7 separate regions of the Homo sapiens genome follow, and all the other regions are linked to region 1. Evidence: promoter capture Hi-C in 16 types of primary human blood cells and fetal thymus (Javierre and others, 2016). All regions are on one chromosome and are shown on one strand. The core of a region is centred on a gene start or on the middle of the fragment in contact, and the rest is flanking DNA. Distances in the headings are between cores, read along the strand shown.

What was found. Contacts are between HindIII fragments. The CHiCAGO score rates a contact against its expected background, and 5 or more counts as called.
Region 2: a contact is called between a fragment that was not itself captured here and the fragment with the promoter of MFHAS1 in region 1, in 5 of 17 cell types (non-activated CD4 T cells, naive B cells, M1 macrophages and 2 more). The highest score is 6.4, in non-activated CD4 T cells.
Region 3: a fragment that was not itself captured here is called in contact with the fragment with the promoter of MFHAS1 in region 1 in 1 of 17 cell types (M0 macrophages); the score reaches 5.2 in M0 macrophages.
Region 4: a contact is called between a fragment that was not itself captured here and the fragment with the promoter of MFHAS1 in region 1, in 3 of 17 cell types (total B cells, naive CD4 T cells and non-activated CD4 T cells). The highest score is 6.5, in total B cells.
Region 5: a contact is called between a fragment that was not itself captured here and the fragment with the promoter of MFHAS1 in region 1, in 3 of 17 cell types (activated CD4 T cells, total CD4 T cells and non-activated CD4 T cells). The highest score is 8.5, in activated CD4 T cells.
Region 6: a fragment that was not itself captured here is called in contact with the fragment with the promoter of MFHAS1 in region 1 in 6 of 17 cell types (activated CD4 T cells, naive CD4 T cells, total CD4 T cells and 3 more); the score reaches 10.1 in activated CD4 T cells.
Region 7: a fragment that was not itself captured here is called in contact with the fragment with the promoter of MFHAS1 in region 1 in 3 of 17 cell types (non-activated CD4 T cells, M1 macrophages and activated CD4 T cells); the score reaches 8.2 in non-activated CD4 T cells.

What each region holds. Positions count from the first base shown.
Region 1 is chr8:8,892,280-8,895,046 of GRCh38, forward strand. MFHAS1 (multifunctional ROCO family signaling regulator 1) reads right to left here and starts at 1,351. Exons shown (of 3, transcript NM_004225.3): 1 at 1-1,351. The coding sequence starts at 779. RefSeq lists an enhancer at 1-732 and silencers at 577-846, 957-1,236, 1,247-1,496. The HindIII fragment of the contact is 4,068 bases long and covers 1-1,733 here.
Region 2 is chr8:8,243,680-8,246,446 of GRCh38, forward strand. It overlaps the pseudogene FAM86B3P and the pseudogene ALG1L13P. Among named protein-coding and RNA genes, the nearest start is that of FAM85B, 18 kb to the left of the region's middle. RefSeq lists an enhancer at 222-1,421. The HindIII fragment of the contact is 913 bases long and covers 872-1,784 here.
Region 3 is chr8:8,262,039-8,264,805 of GRCh38, forward strand. No RefSeq gene overlaps it. Among named protein-coding and RNA genes, the nearest start is that of FAM85B, 36 kb to the left of the region's middle. The HindIII fragment of the contact is 290 bases long and covers 1,268-1,557 here.
Region 4 is chr8:8,290,053-8,292,819 of GRCh38, forward strand. No RefSeq gene overlaps it. Among named protein-coding and RNA genes, the nearest start is that of FAM85B, 64 kb to the left of the region's middle. The HindIII fragment of the contact is 1,342 bases long and covers 657-1,998 here.
Region 5 is chr8:8,322,626-8,325,392 of GRCh38, forward strand. The region is part of intron 5 of PRAG1 (PEAK1 related, kinase-activating pseudokinase 1); the gene reads right to left. Among named protein-coding and RNA genes, the nearest start is that of PRAG1, 62 kb to the right of the region's middle. The HindIII fragment of the contact is 6,195 bases long and covers 1-2,767 here.
Region 6 is chr8:8,340,611-8,343,377 of GRCh38, forward strand. The region is part of intron 3 of PRAG1 (PEAK1 related, kinase-activating pseudokinase 1); the gene reads right to left. Among named protein-coding and RNA genes, the nearest start is that of PRAG1, 44 kb to the right of the region's middle. The HindIII fragment of the contact is 3,665 bases long and covers 1-2,767 here.
Region 7 is chr8:8,357,571-8,360,337 of GRCh38, forward strand. All of the region lies in intron 3 of PRAG1 (PEAK1 related, kinase-activating pseudokinase 1), which reads right to left. Among named protein-coding and RNA genes, the nearest start is that of PRAG1, 27 kb to the right of the region's middle. The HindIII fragment of the contact is 324 bases long and covers 1,248-1,571 here.

The DNA.
Region 1 (2,767 bases), core at 101-2,600:
TTGTTGTCTAGCATGAGGCTCTCCAAACTGGCCAGCTCGCAGAAGCCGGCGGGCAGCGTGCCAAGCTCGGCCCCACTCAGCCAGAGGATCTTGAGGGCACGCAGGGCACTGATATCCTCAGGCAGGCCCCGCAGCCGGTTGCTGGACACGTCCAGCTCCTCCAGGGCCACCAGCTGCAGCAGCTGCCGGGGGAAGGCAGTGAGCTGGTTGTGATCCACGTCCAGGGTGCGCAGGCGGGAGAGGCAGGAGAGGGAGTCAGGCAGGTGCGCCAGCCGGTTAAAGCTGACATCCAGCTCCTCCAGGTGAGCGAGAGCGCCCAGCTGGGCGGGCAGGGCGGGCAGCTGGTTGTGGCTGAGGTTGAGCTTCCGCAGCTCCCTCAGAGCACTCACCACCTCCGCGCCCAGGGCGGTCAGCCGGTTGTGGCTCACGTCCAGCTCGGTGAGGTGGTGGCCGAGCTCGGCCACCGCCGGGGGCAGCCGGGCGAAGCGGTTCCTGCGCAGGACCAGGACGCGCAGGCTGCCCAGCGCCGACCCCAGCCCCTCGGGTACCTCCTCCAGGCCGTTGTTCCCCAGGTTCAGTGCCTCAATGTCCCCGAGGTTGGCCGGCAGCACGAGCTGGGGGGAGGCGGGGGACTCGAGCGCGTCGGCCCCGGCCCCGGGGCAGGCCCCGGCGGCGGTAAGCGTGAGCTGGCGCAGGTTGCTCCGCAGCTTCCTGGCACGCAGGGCGGCGTCCCGCCACAGCCTCGCGGTCTTCAGGTTGCCACTGTCCATCCCAGCCATGGCGGGGCCCCGGGCCGACAGCCTCACGCGGACGCGGGAGCCCGCAGCTACATGCCGCGCCGCGCCCCGGGCCCTCCGGCTCCTGCCCCTGCCTGCCCTCCCGCGCTCGGCGGCCGGCGGCCGCGGGTCCTAGCGCAGCCAGCGGCCGAGCGCTGGCGGCTAGGGGGCGGCGGCGACGCGAGCGGCTCCGGGGGACGCCGAGCGCGTGGAGAGCAGCTTGCATTCTCCCTGCGGCCGGGCCATGGGCGCGCCGGGCAGCAGGGCCGCCGCCCGCGCGCCGCGGAGGATGCCTGCTCCTCCTCCCTCTCCGCCCGCCGCGCGGCGCCTCGGGGGGCCCGGCTCCGGCCCCGCTACCCTCGCAGCCGCGGTCCCGCGGCCGGCAGCGGCGTCGCCTCCTCGAGCTCCTGGGGGAGGGCGGCGCTCGGCCCGGCGGCGGGCATGCTGCGGGCGCAGGGCTGGGGCGCAGCCGCGGGGAGGGGGCGGCGGCGCCTCCTTGTCTCCGTTTCCCCGGGCTCGGGCGGGAGCGCGGGCGCCGCGTCCCCGGCGCTGGGAGGGCGCGATTGGGAAGCGGCAGCGCCGCCCGCCGGAGCGGCCCCCACGTGACCGGCGGAGGCGCCGCGTTTTCCCGGCACCGCCCCGGGGGCGGGAGCTGCGGAGGGCGCCGGGTGCGGGGCCGGGGGCGCCTGGCGCGGGGCCGGGTCCGCGCCCCGGACCATGCTGGGCGGGGAGGTCGTCCCAGCGGCGGATGTGGGGCTCCGGGGCCCCCCTGGTGGGTTCGCCCGCGCCTGGCTCTTTGTTGGCCCCCAGTCTCTAAGGATTTCTTTTTCTTGTTCTCTAATGCGTCGGATCCGCCGGCTTCCCTTACTCATCCTTTACCTGCTCCCCTGCCGCTCGCCTTGCATCCACGCCGTAGTGGAACTGGCACAACTCGGGGGCCCTGGGTATCATCATAGAAGCTTAGGACAAGAGTGTGGTTAAACAAAATTAGAACAGGCAACCATTCATTCATTTGGTAAATATTTCCTGAGGCCCTATTTCGTGTTGAACATGGGACAGGAGTAATGCAGGCTGGTCAGAGGAGAATAAAAAATACCAGGCAGCAGTTTCACTTGACTGGAGGCTATGGGCTGATAAGACCCTGAAAACCAGGGTGTGTACCAAGCTGGCTAAGACCGGCTGGACCCGACGTGGTCCTGGATTTGACCTAGGTTTCTCCTAGGCCTCCATTATACGCTCTTTAACATCCTAAGTCACACCAGTGCCATGACAATTCCGGGGACACCCATATTTGAAGTAAAAATGGGTGGCACCACAGTCCCGAAAAATCTCCACACTTTTCCAGGAATTTTCATGAATATTTCACCCCTTGGTTAAAGAAACCCATAAAGGTAGCAGCCCCAAGCCCCGTTGTGAGTGACCCTCTCCACAATCCCTTTTCCTGGGTGTGTACTTTTCCCTTTGCAATAAATCTGCATATTGTCACTATTTTCTGAGTTGTCCTTGAACTCATTCTCTGGATGTGTCAAGAGCCTGGACATTGGCTGGGGTCAAGGTCGCACTGGCTTTAGAGGATCTCCCCCAGCCCACCCGTACCAGAACTACTAAAAGACGGTTTTAACCCCCCTGGGGAAGGCTTTTGAGCAGGTGGCCCGCCAGCCTAAAGGAGGGTTGTTAAGATGGGGGGGACACAAGCTGTTTATCTGGGGTATCCCGTTTATCTTCACAACAACGCTGTGAAACAAATACTGTATCCCCATTAATACAGTACCTGTTGTTCTGCGGACTCAAGAAAACAGCTATTTTGGGAAACAGTCACAGTCCATTGTTCAACTCTAATGCTTATTTTTATTGCTGTTAGGAAATGTTTCTTTGAGCTCACATCTATGCTAAGTCAATAATTTCTCCCGAACTTATGAAAGTCTGGAAACCTACCAAGACTCCCAGTGTCACCTCCATCATTCCCTTCAGGTTGATTGATAAGGAAGCAA
Region 2 (2,767 bases), core at 78-2,577, 650 kb before region 1:
AGAGAATTGAGCAGTAATCCCCAGTTGTGAGACAGCAATGGACACAGTGGGCAGGCGAGTACTGAACTCCCTCTGCAAAAATTCTAACAGTGAGAAAATTTAACCATCCCACATCTTGCCTGTACCCTTCAAACTGCCCTTCATTCTTCCTGGGCATGGGCCAAGCTAACTTTGGGAGACATTTAGTTTATAGTTTAAATGATAATAGCTCTTCTCCAAAGCTCAACCACATTTGTAAAGCTGATGAGAGACCGCCAGGGTAAGAGGATGGGAGGAGCCTGATTTCTGCTAAGGTGTAGACATAAATGATTACCTGCCATTATTCTGGAGGTCACAAGACATGGAACTTCCCCAATTACTCCTGCAAATCACATCACTATTGTAGAACCCACGATCAGCCTTTTCGGATGTCTTTTCAGGTTTTTGCTTGTCTGATGACTGATGGCTCCACCCAGACCTGCCAACCACTCCCGCGGCCCCATCCAGAAGTGGCTCAGCGTGCATGAGGACCATCTCCAACATCCCTGTGATTGTACCCCCAACCAACCAGCAGCAAGAACCTATTGCCTAGTCACCTCCCCTCTCTTTCCCCAACTATCATTGAAAAAGTCTGGCTTCCAAATTTTCCGGGAGACTGATTTGGGTAATAATAAAACTCCAGTCTTCTGTTCAGCCAGCTCTGCATGAATTAAGCTCTTTCTCTATTGCAATTTTCCTGTCTTGATAAATTGTCTCTACCTGGGCAGGGGGCAAAATGAACCCATAGGGTGGTTACAGTACCTTGCTGGGTCACTTGATATTCCTGGAGGGTCACGGGAAGCGCTATGTGAATCCCACTTCTGATATTGTAAGATTCTCTCCAGGGCCTGAAAGCTTAAGGGGTTGAGCAACTCCTCCCTTCTCAGGCCCAGCCCCAGGGCGCAAGGCCGCTTGCATCAGCAGCGTGCGTGAGCAGATGCGCCAGCAAGATAGCAAAAGCAGGAAGAGAGCCAGCCGGAAGACAAGTACCTCTGAAGATGGAGAAAGAGGCCATCTGGGTACAACGTTGCAGTTACGTCAGACCAGGACACTTCCTGTTTACAGGAGACTATAAAACCTTTGCCCCATCCTCACTTGGGGCTGACGCCGTTTTAGGCCTCAGCCCGCCAGCACCCAGGCTCTCATTAAAACAGCATGTTGCTCCACACTGTCGTGTTGTCTGTTGGCGCGCTCTCGAGGTTCAAACCGATACAAGAAACTTACAATACCATCTGATAAAAGAAAAACTTTAGACAAATTAAATTTGACAGAGTTTAATTGAGCAAAAAACAACCGGAGAATCAGGTATCCCTAGAACCAGAGTAGGTTCAGAGCAACGCCTAGTTTTTAAAAAAATGTTTAACATTTATGAAAATTCTTCAACTTTAGCCTTCAAAATTTATAATGAATTGTTACTTCAGTTACCATCTTTATAAACTTTGAAGAGGTCTTTACTTTTTAAAATTTACTTATTTATCTTTACATAACATGCTCTTCTGATTTAAGTGTAGCTTTTTACCGTCTCCTGCGTCTTTTGTTTCCACTAAGTTGGTTTTGGTTTCCATTTTTCATGGTGATGACTTTCCTGAAATGTGTGATGACCTCTTGATACGGAAGGCAGAAAGAAATTATTTGGGCGGATAGTGATGGTAAAAGAGTCCTCGACAATGCTTCCCTTCTGACAAAAAGCAGCCCAAGAAATTGTTCTTTTCTAACAAAGAGCAGCCTGAAAAAATCGAGCTGCAAATATAGGTGAGCAAGCTGGAAGCTTCCACGGGTGAATGACGGCAGCTGTCCACGAGGAAAAGGCTACCTGGGGCCAGGCATGTTCAACATGGAGGCTCCATCCTCCCTTTTCTTTGTCACCATGTGTACAGTAAAGAAACAGGCAACATGGCACTCGCCAGGTAGAGAACCATCTGCATAATAAAAGATTAGGGTGGGCAGCCACCTTTTCACACCCAGTAAAATGGCACACCTGGTCCAACCAATCTTTCATGCCATATGTAAAACAGACACCACCTCCTCAAGCTCATCTATAAAACGCTCTGCATTTCACCATGGAAGTGGAAACCCATTCAGGACCCCTCTCTCTGCAGCAGAGAGAGATCTTCTCTTTCTGTCGCCTATTAAACTTCCGCCTTAAGCTCACTCTTGGTGTATCTGTGTCCTAGTTTTCCATGGCCGTGAGACAACAAATCTCGGGTATTTACCCCAGAATATGATGCCGCTTCACTTTGACCATCTATTCATATTTTAGAGAAAAACCTAAACAAACAAGGCTGGGTTTGTTGAAGGCTGGCTTCACAGAAGGCTCACCAGTTAGCCAGCCTTCTTCCTGAGGGACTTGTGATGGTTGTACTCTTCGGCTTCTCCAGAAAGGAGCATGGGAGCAGTCCATGAGAGGCTGAAGACCTGCCATTCAGTGTGTGGATCTTCCCTCATTTCCCATCCTCTCTTCTCCTGGTCTATACTGGGACTGCTATCCCTGAGCTCAGAGCCTTGGGACTGAAACTGTCCTGAGTGTGAACCTCCTGACTCCCATGTGAGTAGCTGGGTGAACGGAATTTGAATCCACTCAGTTTGCAGCCCATTGCCTCATCTGTCTGCTCACAGAATATAGTGGCTTCAAGCTTTGAACCCTGTAGGTGATCTTCAGAGCAAGACAAACCAGTTTCATCAGCTGTGCCTCATACAGGCCACTGGCCTTAACTTCTTCTGTCCTGTTAGGTCAGTCACCCCCATCTGT
Region 3 (2,767 bases), core at 163-2,662, 630 kb before region 1:
GCCCTTCTATTTGCAGAGGTTCTTATAGAAAATTTTTCTTTTTGCCTTTGTTTCTTCATGTGTGGATTATTGCCATCCTGCCACTCACTGTGGTTTCCATGGAATCTTGTGGAGGAATCTGTTTATATATTTTTTTGGCTCACACATCTGTTATTACAAAAGCTCCTCTACTTTTATGATCTAATTAGGCTCTGCAAAGGAAACAACCAAAAAACTTAGTGGCTTAAAAGTAAAGCAATATATTATATCTCTTGATTTCATAAGTTAACCAGTTAAGTTTTCCTGATGGTCTTGCCTGGGATCATTGTAGCAACTGCATTTAGTTGGCTGATGAGCTGGGGGCATAGCTGGGGTTCCTTGGTTCTCCTCTATTTGATCTTTCCTTTGGTAGCCTGAGCTTCTTTGTAGCATATTGACCTCAGAGTAGTTGGACTATGTACATGGCAGCTGGCTTCCAAGAGGGAGAAAGAAGAAACTGTCAATCTTAAGTCCTGGGCTCGGAGGTTCAAGAGTGTCGTTTCTGTTATATTCTTTTAGGGGGAGAAATCAAAGCAAGTAAAGCAAGTTAAAAGATCTGGCCAGGTTCAAGGGGAAAGGAAATAGACTTCATTTCTTAATGGAAGAAACGGCGCATGCAACCAGTGGTAGAAGGAATTGCTGGTGAACATGTTTGCCTACCACCAACCATACCTAAAAATTTGTAAATAAGCCAATTTCCCCCATGTAGGTTCTTATGGCTACAAGAGGCTTGTGATTGTGGTTCCTCACTGCATTATCATCCAGTAGGACAGTGAATTGTTCTTCTAAGAGCTTTACAATCAGAGTCTTTTCCTCCTTGATATTGTAAGTTCCACTTGGCATCTGTTTCCAAACCAGATCGATTTTCACTATAACAAAAATATTTTGGGTAGGTATCCCCACTTCAGGATGAGTGCCACTTGTGTTGTGAGGAGTTTTCTAGCAAGCAATTTGTAGATGCAGGTTGGCCACCCAACTGAGGTGGCAAATGGAAGCCGGATTGCAGCCTTGTTCTAATCACTAAGCCTTGTTCCCCTGTATGGGACGGAGTCTACCAACAGAGAACCGCTGCCCCATCTGTGTTGGACATGTCACCACTGACTTTTGCTTGTGATGGATGTGTCACCACTCACTTTTGCTTGTGATGGACATGTCACCAGTGACTTTTGCATTATGCAGATCTGAAAAGACCTAGGCACCTACAAGTGTGGCTGGCCACCCTAGTGCCTGGCTACTTTTACCATGCTGAAGCTTTGGATAATCTTCCAGGCTTCTTCTTCATTAAATTTTGCCACGCTCACTGTGGTTTTTTGTTCTGTTTTTTTTTTCCATTTTGGTAGTTATTCTTTCTCATCTTTTGCTAAAGATGATTAGAGCAGCAGTTTCTACAAATTGCTTTGTCATACTGAATTATTCCTATGAGCCAAAGAGAAACGTCTTACGCACATATCATTTTCTTAAAATTTTTTCTAATACCATATTTCTACTTTTGTTTCATTTGTGATTGTCCGCTTCTTCAATCTAGTATTTTTTTTTACAAGCTTTATTGTTTTTGCATTTATTTGAGACACTGGAGTAAATGTTCATAAAGTATCTCAAAACTAAGTGTAAACATAGCAAATACACACTAGAATAATGGCTAATGCCTCGGGCAAAAGTATATTTGAACTAAAAGGATGGTGCATAATTGTTACTGCATGTCTTGTTGCCAGACGGAGTTGATATGCTTTTGCTCTGGAAAATAGCTTTGCACCTGTGATGGCTTGTAAGTTACAAGTTTTTAAGTATGAGAATTTCCATCTATAACTAGAAAGCTTTGGAGAATAGTCAGGTTTTAGGTGACACCATAGGGTATGAGTCACTGTTATATAAGCAGTAATTGTTTGCATTTAGAGTGCTTAAGCAGGCATGCTTACAGCCAATTTTTAAAGTTATTGTGTTTTTGCAAAAATAACAGTTTAGCAGTCTTGAGAACCTTAGTGAACATAGTTAAGCCACCCCAGCCAGATGACAGTGTATCCTTTCTCTAAGAAAGAAGATTCTATACCATTTATAGCAAATAATTTTTGGAATAACTTTCATTGTAAAGCTATTTTTCCTCATTATTGCCCATCTCTTTTGATGCTACAACAAAAGCTCATCCTCTCTCCTAATTTCTTTCTTCTTTTTTTTTTTTGAGACAGAGTCTCACTCTGTCGCCCAGGCTGGAGTGCAGTGGGGAGATCTCAGCTCACTGCAAGCTCCACCTCCAGGGTTCACACCATTCTCCTGCCTCAGCCTCCCGAGTAGCTGGGACTACAGGCGCCCGCCACCACGACCAGCTAATTTTTTTGTATTTTTAGTAGAGACGGGGTTTCATCGTGTTAGCCAGCATGGTCTCGATCTCCTGACCTCGTGATCCACCTGCCTCAGCCTCCCAAAGTGCTGGGATTACAGTCGTGAGCCACTGCGCCCGGCCCCTCTCTCCTAATTTCAAGTGTAACTAGATCTGTCATTGCTCTAAAGGAGCCACTCCTGGGCAGGACACATTTCTGGTTTAATAATTACTCTCATGAGATCACCACTCACGGGAACGTCTGTCCTTTCTTCCTTAGTGCCCCCGTTGGTCCCAGAACATAATTCTGTGACACGGAGCACAATTCTGTTCTAATTCTTTTGCATTAGTGAATGTATTTGTTATGCATTTGCCTGCTATTATTAGATTGTAAGTTCTGTTGAGATGGGGCTGTGCCTGTCATTTTTGGATCCC
Region 4 (2,767 bases), core at 78-2,577, 600 kb before region 1:
ATACGATAAGGTTGTTTTTCATTTTGCTTTCAAATAAATAATCATCGGTAGGAAAAGGAGATTTATTATATGTATAAACATGTGTTCTCTGTGCAGGGGATATCAGATGTATGCTAACTCTTTTGTGTAAAGAGATCATGTCTAAATCCCTTGAGTGGCTGTTCAGCTAACGTTTAGAGTCTCTTAATCTTGTATTTGATGCTAAACCAAATAGGCCCTTAGGGAAGAATTAAGAATAAGCCAGACAGTATAAAATTCTTATTTTGTTAAAGTTGAATAGTATTTGTTGCATTAGGTACAACCAGTGTAATCACTATGAGGGTTAGTTGAGTATACTCTCTGTACACATACACTCTAAAATAAAATGACCTAGGTATACAGAAGGACTAAAGGGATTAAAGATTTCTATCTTATTATTTGACATTGAGAGCACTGCCCTTTTGTTGAAACAAAATGTCATTCAGATGAATAGATAAGGTCATACCTCCAACATCACAATGAATCTAAATCGCGGTAAAAATAAGTTGAGTAACAAATTTTTACTTAAAAGCCATCAAATTTTATTTTGTGTTTTTGAGTCTTGGATTTTGTGCACAGAAACATTCTAATATTGTTTAAGCAACAGGGAATAGAAAAGATTAATCAGTAATTAGCAAAGCTTTAAAAAAATGAAAGTGAACATGAGTCCTAAGACACGCTGTGATTTTTGCTTTTTGTTGCTGTTGTCGTTGTTATTGTTGTTTTCGCTTTGTCTTCCAGGCTGGAGTGCAGTAGCATGATCATAGCTCACTGCAGCCTTGGACTCCTGGGTTCAAGTGATCCTTCCACCTCAGCTTCCTGAGGAGTAGTGGGGGCTACAGGCATGTGCCACTGCATTTGGCTAATTAAAAAAAAATTTTTTTTCTGGTAGAGCCAGGATCTTGCTGTGTTGCCCAGGCTGGTCATAAACTAACACTGTGATTTTTTAAACATGAGCTCTCCTTTGGGCTGGCAACGTGATAAAAGAAAATATGTTTTTCTTCTGAGGAAAATAATTATTTATGAACACATTTTTTCTTCATTAAAACATAGATTTAGCCCTAAAGTCTAAGTCAAAATAAAAACAACTTAAATATTGCTCCATAAGGCTAGTAGTTGGTAATTTTTGTTTTTTTTTTTTTGAAATGGGATCTCACTCTGTCACCCAGACTGGAGTGCAATAGTCAAATCTCAGCTCACTGCAAACTCTGCCTCCCGGATTCCGGCGATTCATCTGTCTCAGCCTCCTGAGTAGCTGGGATTACAGATGTACACCAGCACACCTGGCTAACTTTTGTATTTTTAGTAGAGACAGGGGTTTCACCATGTTGACCAGGCTGGTCTCGTACTCCTGACCTCAAATGATCCACCCACCTCAGCCTCCAAGTGCTTGAATTACAGGCGTGGGCCACCATGCTTAGCTAGTTGGTAATCTTTTAAGGTGAGGTTGCATTTACAGTAGTCAGTTGCGTTTACTGCCCTCGCCCCACATTTTGTTTTCAGGGATTCAGTGGAATTTGTTCTTATATTTATTTGTGAATAAGATTACATATTTCACTTTTTTCCCTTTCTTCTCTTTGGCTGTTGCTGTGCTGCATGCTTTAGTAATTATTACCAAGCCCCACCCTCGCTTCCAGATACCCAGGTGGCTTGTATTTTGTACCATGGCTCTGGTAGGGATGTGCTGCCTCTCCTGGATGCTACACAGGGTGCATTGGCCATGCTCAGGCTGAGCATCGCCTGGCTGCTGGTGCTGCAGCCCCTGCCACCCTCTCTGGCCCTGCTTGACATCACTGCCTCCAATTAGCTGCTTTCACTGCAGACACCCTAGAGCCCATACAGCAGATGCTGAGGTACTGGAACCTCAGGGTTGGGGAGGAGATGCTGAACTGCATAATATTCCTTGGAAAAGTGGGAGAGAATTCTTGCCTCCCTTTGAGGGCTGTACTCCATTAAACTGGTCCAGAAGTTTGGGTATAAAGCTTATACCCAAAGGTTTTGAGAAACAGGCATTTTCACTTTTAATTATATGATTACCTCTACTCTTTTTTTTTTTTTTTTTTTTTTTTTTTGAGACAGAGTCTCCCTCTATCGCCCAGGCTGGAGTATGGTGGTACGATCTCGGCTCACTGCAACTTCCACCTCCCAGGTTCAAGCGATTCATTCTGCCACCTCAGCCTCCTGAGTAGCTGGGATTATAGGCTCCCACCACCACACCTGGCTAATTTTTGTATTTTTAGTAGAGATGGGGTTTCACCATGTTCCCCAGGCTGGTCTCGAACTCCTCACGTTAAGTGATCCACCTGCCTCAGCCTCCCAAAGTGCTGGGATTACAGGTGTGAACCACCGCACCCAGCCCCTACTCTATTTAAAATAAGATTCAGGCATGAGTCCACTAGGCTGGACCAGGGAAAGATCTGAAAGACAAACACAGCCATTCTTCTCCCGGATAACTGACTCTTCAGTCTTGGAAGACATGGGCCGGCCTGCTCCTCTTTCCCCTTGGGACAAGTTTTACTTATGTGTGTATTTTTCTTCCCCGGGAGTCACTTGGGTTTTCGTGGAAATAGACTGCTGTTTGCCAAAGCCACGTCTGGGTCCCAGAGTTGATGTATTCAGACAGCACTGTCAACATACTCTAGCTAATGCAACGCTGGCTGGTGAGAAGAGCAGGAAAGTTATATAGGAAGAGAATGAGAGGGAAGATTCCCAAACCCCTTACATACTTATTCATTGTAAATTGGTGTTA
Region 5 (2,767 bases), core at 74-2,573, 570 kb before region 1:
TAGGGCAGTCTCTTCAAGTCTGATAAAAATATTTACAATGTGTTCTCACTCAAGCCTGCTACCTGGAGGCTTCGTCTGCATGATAAAGTCTTGGTCTCCATAACCCCTTCTCATAATCCAGACATTCCTTTCTATTGATAATAACTCTCTCAACCAAGTGCCAATCAGAAAATCTTTGAATCCACCGACGACTTGGAAGCTCCCCCGGCCCCCTCAACTTCAATGTACATCATACATGTATTGATTGATAACTGTGTCTCCCTAAAATGTACAAAACCAAGTTGTGGCCTGACCACTTTGGGAACATGGTCTCAGGATCTCCTGAGGGCTGTGTCATGGGCCATAGGTGACTTATATTTGGCTCAGAATAAATCTAATATTTTACAGAGTTGGACTCTTTTCATTAACAAACAAAAAGCACACAAATGTGAAAAACAAGACACTAAATAGACTGCAAAAAATGACCCTGGCTTCCAGGATGAGGGCTGAAACAAGATGGGAGACTGTCGCCTCATTCCCCTTCAGCTGGAAACATGCACATTGGGTGATATGGTTTGGCTGTGTCCCCAAACGAATCTCATCTTGTAGTTCTCATAATCCCCACGTGTGGTGGGAGGAACCTGGTGATGTTCTCATGATAGTGAGTGAGTTCTCATGAGATCTGATGGCTTTATAAGGGGTTTTCTTTTCCCTCCCTTTTTTTTTTTTTTTGAGATAGAGTCTTGCTCTGTTGCCCAGGCTGGAGTGCAGTGGCGCATCTTGGCTCACTGCAATCTCCACCTCCTGGCTTCAAGTGATTCTCCTGCCTCAGCCTCCCAAGTGGCTGGGATTACAGGTGCCTACCACCACACCTGACTAATTTTTGTATTGTTCATTTTTTAGTAGAGATGAAGTTTCACCATGTTGGCCAGGCTGGTCTTGAACTCCTGACCTCGTGATCTACCTGCCTTGGCCTCCCAAAGTGCTGGAATTACAGGCATGAGCCACTGCACCTGGCTGCTTTTGCCCCTTTTGCTTGGCTTCTCCTTGCTGCCACCATGTGAAGAAGGACGTGTTTGCTTCCCCTTTCACCATGATTGTAAGTTTCCTGAGGCTTCCCCAGCCATGCTGAACTGTGAGTCAATTAAATCTCTTTCCCTTGTAAATTACCCAGTCTCAGGTATGTCTTTATTAGCATCGTGAGAACTAAACATCAGGTGACTCAAATTTTTCCTTCCCTTACACGTATCCAGAAATCACTGGAAAGCGCTTCGAGTATTGATTTTGGAATTACACATAAATTTGAGCGGGTAGATGATTTTGCAAATACAGAATCCATAAATAATGAAGATGGACGGTATTTATCTCAAAGCATGTTTTCTCCTCTGAATGACAGGGGCAGGGATAGTCCTTCCTCGTAGGGCCATTGTGAGGATCAGATGAAATGATGCAGGCATGGCTCTCAGCGCCAGGCCCAGCCCAGGGCAAGCACAATGGGGAAGGTTGCTATGGTGACTGCTCTTGCCATCTCGGCTGTAGCCCTCTGGTGATGCGGAGGCATCCAGAGCTGGCCTGCAGGTATTGTGCAAACCCGAAGAGCACAGCTGCCCAGGGGCCTGGGAAGAGTTTCCAAGGCTCCTTTTTCTCAGGGGTATGAAAAGCCTGGGCCCAGCAAACACTTGAGGCCTGGAGCTCCAGTCAGGCTGCTGACATTTTGCACAGAGATGTAAATGAAGGAGCAGAGTAAATGGCAACTGGGCTGGATGCATTTCAAAATCAGTGCACTGGGCCTTTGGCAAGACCCGCAGCTTCCTCAAAGGCCAGCAACGGAGAAGGCTGCGTTGGGCGCATGCTAACTAGCCCTGTGAGTGAGCTGTAGGCCCGCGCCGGAGATCATTCCACAGCACTGGGTGGGGGAAGGGGCGGTGGGGGAGGGAGTGGCTTTTTCTCCATCTCCATCTCCCTACTCCCTGCCCCCAACCAACCTCATTTCATTTTCAGGGGGCCCTGCACTCGGATTTTTAGCTCTAGAACTTTACATAGACTCTTGGTTCAGCTCAAGTTTCTAACGTTTTGCTGAGCCAGGACTCATTTAAACTTTGGAGTCAGGGCCTCATTCACGGGCGAAAGTCTGGGCTAAATCATGTCTGTTAAATAAAAAAGGCCCAGCAGCTTAAAACGGGGCCCTAATTACCAAACTAGAATTCTGTCTAGATGGCTGAGAAATGAAACTGCTTCGAAGACGCACACACAACTAATGATTTTTTTTTTCCTGTCACCTATTCATGCGGTGGAGCTACAAGAACCAGCTTTATCTCCTCACTGCTGCAGGGCGCTGAGCCCAAAGTAGTAGGTTCCAGCATCAGCAAGGAGCAGGTGTGAGCCTGCTATTGTTAACTAGGACTCCGCGACCGCAAACGAGGCTCCGTCTGCCTTCAGTGCCGGCTCCCTGTTTAACATGTGCAGATAAAATGCGCTCAGCCTCAGACAGGCAGCTCGCTGGCTGGGAAGGGAGACCCACTCCCCCTCCTGCGGATCCCCAGATGACTGTATTTCGTCTAGACTGGAGAGCTAATGAAGTGGAACAGCTGCCCGTGCGAAATGATGCTCCAGGGCCCCCACGGCCCGCCCCCCCAATGACCAGGCCAGGCACATTTGCAAATTAATATTGTTCCTGGTAACGTTGTTCCAAGAATTACCATCCTCTGCATATTGGATGCTAGTCTCCAACTTTCCTTTTTCACGTGGCACAGAGACGGTCCTTGAGCTACCACGTCTCCAGGAAAGT
Region 6 (2,767 bases), core at 90-2,589, 550 kb before region 1:
GAACTGCCTTATTTAATGCGCATGACCTTACGGTCAAGAATTTATTGGCTGTTCTTTGTGTTCAACATTGCCAGGCCCTGTTTTAATTTTCATAGTCACGGGAATCCCCTGTGTATCAACAGGAGGGTTTAAAGTTTGTTCGCTACCACAAAAAGTGCTCCTTGAAAACACGTCCCTCTCCCCACTCCCAACCCTTAGAATCGTACTTTTAAACTGTGTTAAATCTGTCAAAAAAAAAAATGTGACAGTGAAGGCAACATTATGACTAATCTTCATCTTTGTATCTCAGTATCGCTGTGGGAACCTTGGAAATATCAATTCCTTAGGAAATGCTATGGCAGTAGCTGATCCTTGCCTAATCTCCTGGCAAAATAAAATCAGACAGTTTCATACAATATTCTTATATCCACATCAGATCTATCACTAATAGTTTTCTCCAAGGGAAGCCAGGATATGAAGTCATGCATAACAACTCCTCAGTCTAGGAGAGAAGCCAGAGCCAGCTCTGTGGCTATCCCCTACTTTGCCCCTTCCAAAGTGGTTTCTAGAGTTTCTTGGTCTTCAGGCCCAGAAAATCACTAAGGGAGAAACTACAGCACCATGGCTACAGAGCTGGCACAGCTTCCCACTCCACAAACTTCATGAAATGTATGTAAATAGACAAAACCAAAAAATACATAAACATGTGTATGTATGAGCATATATATATATTCATATACATATGCACACACACACACATACTTACTTAAAGTAACAGCCAAGATTAAAAGAAAGAACAATTCTCAGGTGCCAGATACAAAGAGGGAACTCCACACACAGGCAGTACAAGGGATCCTTCAATACTAAGCGTATATTTACTACAGATTTCAGTAGACGCACTTTATCAGGCTAAGGATGTTTATTTCTATTTCAAGTTTTCTAAGGTTTTGTATTTCAAAATCATTTTTGGCTATTAGGGTTTATTAAATGCCTTTTCTACATCTATGGGAAAAAAATCATATCATGTTTCTCCTTTACTCTGTGAATGTGATGAGTTATGTTAATAGCTTTTCTTAATTAAGCCATCCTTGCACATGTTGTATGAACTTATTTTACTACACATTGCTGGATTCAGTTTTACTCATATTTAGTTTAAGATTTTTACATTTACATTCAAATAGAGGCTAGCCCATAATTTTTCTTTCTTGTCCTGTCCTTGTCCAATTTGGATATAAAGGTTAAAATAGAATTATAAAATGACGGCCGGATACGGTGGCTCCCTCCTGTAATCCCAGCACTTTGGGAGGTCAAGGCGGGCAGATCACTTGAGGTAGGGAGTTCGAGACCGGCCTGGCCAACAGGCCAACCCCATCTCTACTAATCATACAAAAATTAGCCAGGCATAGTGGCCTGCGCCTGTAATCCCAGCTACTTGGGAGACTGAGGCAGTAGAATCGCTTGAACCAAGGAGGCGGAGGTTGCAGTGAGCCGAGATGGTGCCATTGCACTCCAGCCTGGGTGACAGAGTGAAACTGTGTCTCAAAAAAAAGAAAAGGAATTATAAAATGAATTGAGTAACTTTCACTTTTTCAATTATCTCATGTAATTTTTTTTTTTTTTTTGAGATGGAGTCTTGCTCTGTTGCCCAGGCTGGAGTGCAGTGGCACCATCTTGGCTCATGCAAGCTACGCCTCCCGGGTTCACGCCATTCTCCTGCCTCAGCCTCCCGAGTAGCTGGGACTACAGGAGGCGCCCACCACCACGCCCCGCTAATTTTTTTGTATTTTTAGTAGAGACGGGGTTTCACCGTGTTAGCCAGGATGGTCTCGACCCCCTGACCTCGTGATCTGCCCGCCTCGGCCTCCCAAAGTACTGGGATTACAGGAGTGAGCCACCGCGCCCGGCCTTATCTCAGGTAATTTTTATAAGAGAAACATTATGTGTTCTCTGAAAGATTGCGAAAACTACCCTGTAAAACCATCAAGGACCAGTTGCTGTATAAATGAGATCAGTAAAGATCTGGTTCTGATAAATCTAGGACCAACATTTCCAGGACACAGACCCAAGAAACAGACTGGAGGATTAACAAGTCAATTCATGGTACTTACACCAGCTATTTATGATGTGAAGAAAAAAAGAAAGTAGAGCCATATCTCATACCGTGTAGAAACACGAATTTTCAACAGAAAAGAAACACCCATTAAATTTTAAATTCATCAGAAAAAATAACGAGAAAACTTTATGAACTTGGGGTAGGAAATAATTTTTAAAATAAGGGCTAAAAAATAGCAATATAAAGAAAAAGATAAATCTGACTACTTTAAAATTTAAAACTTCTGCCTCATAACATAAAAGTCACCATTAAAAAGTGAAAAAAAACAAACCTTGGAGTGGCCAACTCACATCTTTGCAACCCGCATTACTAATAAAGTACTGGTAGGCAGAATAAAAAAGAGTGCCTATAAATCTAAGAAACAGACAAATGACCCCATTTTTAAAATGGAAATGAACAGGCAACTCACAAATGAAACAAGAAAGGCCACTCAACACATGAAAAGATTATTAAAATTATGAATGATCAGATTGTAAATAAAACAAGATTTCATTTCATACCCATCAGATCAGACTGACAACGTCAGATTTTGTTAAAGATATAGGGAAATAGGAACTCTCTCACACTGTTTGTGAGACTGTAGATTGGTAAACTCACACACAGGACAACAATGTGATGAATCTTGTAAAGTTAAATACACACATTCCTATAATCCAGTCACTCCATTTTTGGGTA
Region 7 (2,767 bases), core at 160-2,659, 530 kb before region 1:
CCCTTGTGCACTGTCAGTGGGAATACAAAATGGTGCAGCTGCTATGGAAAACAGTAAGGCAGTTCCTCAAAAAATTAGAAATAGAATCACCAAATGAGCCAACAATTCCACTTTGTGGTATATATTTCAAAGAACTGAAAACAGGGTCTCTAACAGATATTTGCTTACCTGTGTTCATAGCAGTATTATTCACAGTAGCCAAAATGTAGAAGCAACTTAAGTATCCATTAACAGACGAATGAATAAACACAATATGGTTCTGTGAATGTATGGGAAAAACAAATTCAGTTCCTCCTATACTGTCACAATACAAAATACTTCTGTGACCTCAGATCTTGTTAGTTGTCCACCCCAACACCATGCAAGCAATCAATTCTGCAGCAAACACCAGCTGGTTGCTACCAAATTCAATTCAATTCTGACACTATCTACCTAGAGGTAGAGTCAGATCCCACAGGTTGAGGGTTCAGTTTCAGAAGACTTCCCCCTACTTCCAATGCCAATCCAAAGCCCAGGTTGTTTTATCTGTGCTTCTGATCAATCAATTATAAATTGGGGCTCCCATAATCTCCTCCTTGGGTTCAATTAATTTGTTAGAGCTGCACATAGAACTCAGGGAAATGCTTACAAGTTTATTATAAAGTATATCACAAAGGATACAGAAGAAGAGAAGCATGGGCAAGGCGTGTGGGAAGGGGCATGATGCTTCCATGCCCTCTCTGACAAACCACCCTCAAGGAAACCCCAGAGGTTCTGCTATTCAGAAACTCTCTGAACTCTGTCCTCTTAGGTTTTTATGGAGGCCTCATTACATAGTCATGATTAATTAAAGCATCAGCCATTAGTGATCAACTTAACCTTCAGCCTCTCTCCCCAACCCTGTGGGTTGGAGTGGGACTGAAAGTCTCAACCCTCTAATCTTGTCTTGGTTTTTCAGGTGACCAACTCCCCTACTGAAGTGACCAAGGGGCTGCCAGCCCTCAGTCAATTCATAAGCATACAAAAAGACACATCATTTCTGTTGGAAAGGAATGCTTATTCCTTGGTGCTACAAAGAAGAATCAGCATTCAGACAAAAAGTTTTCTCAGCAAGACAATTTTACTTTCTGCAGAAAGGGTGCTGCCCATCAGCAATCCTGCCACGAGAGCACACTGAACAAAGAGACACAGGAATATTTATCCCTTATGGGTGAAGTCCCTATTGCTTTGTCCTACCTCCACTGGCTGGAGCTGGACCTCACAGTCTAAGCTTAGCCCAATTGGCTAACAATCTAAAACTTTCCTAAATAGGTAAAGACAGTGCTAAACAAAGGAAAAGAGGAAGTTGCTTACATAAAGGCTTATAGAAGCAATAACATTTCCAAATAAGGAAGGGATATAAGCTGTGACCTGGGACATGCCTGAGCAAGCCAAAACTCATATTGTAGTTAAAGTATATGTATATATAAAATGCTTATCCTTTTACACTTAATGACTATGTAAGGTTTAATGAAGAGTTATTGTTAAAAGCTAGTCTTTAAGATAAACTATTAGTTCTAACACTTATGATTTATTCCTTAATAAAAAAGGTAAGCTTGAAGAGGAACTTTTTACTTTTCACAATTCCCTCCTCTTATTTTTTTATAGTTTTTCCTCTTCAAACTGTTTTAATATTTCTTGGCTTAATTGCTCTGATTGAATTTCTAAAAGGAGAATTTTTTCTGAATAAGGTGGAGGAGAGTTAAGATGGGTTTTAGTAAGAGTTGTTTTTGTTAATCTTATTACTAATTCCCAGATGCATGGTATAATACAACACCCAAGAAGAAGGAGTATGCCTATTACAGTTGCTATAGAAGTAAGAATTGAGGCTACAGTTTCTTTCTATTGACCGGACCATCCTTCTAGCCAATTAGAAATAGCATTAGGTACAACAGGATGAGTCGTCTAGACTATCTGATTGATAGCTCTAAGGTCTTGCACTAATCAGTATGACCCGTCTGATTACTTGACTGGTAAAATTGGAGTATTGGATGAGGACATACAAGGTTTGAGCAGCCCATCTTTAATAAGTCCTTCAATTACAGGCTTTAACCCTATTCTTCCTTATAAAGGAATACGGTATTGCTTTCTCCTTACTACCTCCCCTGGAGTTTTTAACCAAATATGTATTGGAGGAATTCGTAGCTTTCCTCAGTTTCCTTGACCAGACATCTGGATGTATGTATTTTTCATCTATCGCAGTTAACAAATTTAAAGAGGTTAGAAAACCTTTTGGACCAACTTGCAAACCTATACCTAATTTATCATTAAATCCCTTACTAACAAATTGGTTCCTGCTTCAGGAATTAATAAAAATTGTATACAAGTCGATTGATCTTGATATTTAACTTCCATATTTTCTAAAATTTTTGCCTTAAATCCTTCTCCTTTGACCCTGGAAACTGTCAATTCCTCTGAGGAACGAGCTAAATCAGCTGGAGGAAAACCAACAGATGAGTGAGCAGCTCCTGAGTCAATCAAAAAGGTGATTAATTCATGTTTGGGTCCCACCTCTAAATTTATCAAGGGCTCTTGGTGGGACTCGAAATAGAAAAGACAGAGCCCCTGACCCCTCTATTCTTCTTCAGAAGTAGTCACAAATGGGAGAGCTTCCTCTGCTTTTTCCAATTCAGGACATTCGTTCTTAAAATGACCTGGCCTCCCACATCTGTAACATCTGTCTTGCCCTCCCTGTCTTCCAAGCCCAGGGCCCCTTTTCTTCTTCTCTTTATTTTCATATCCACAGCCC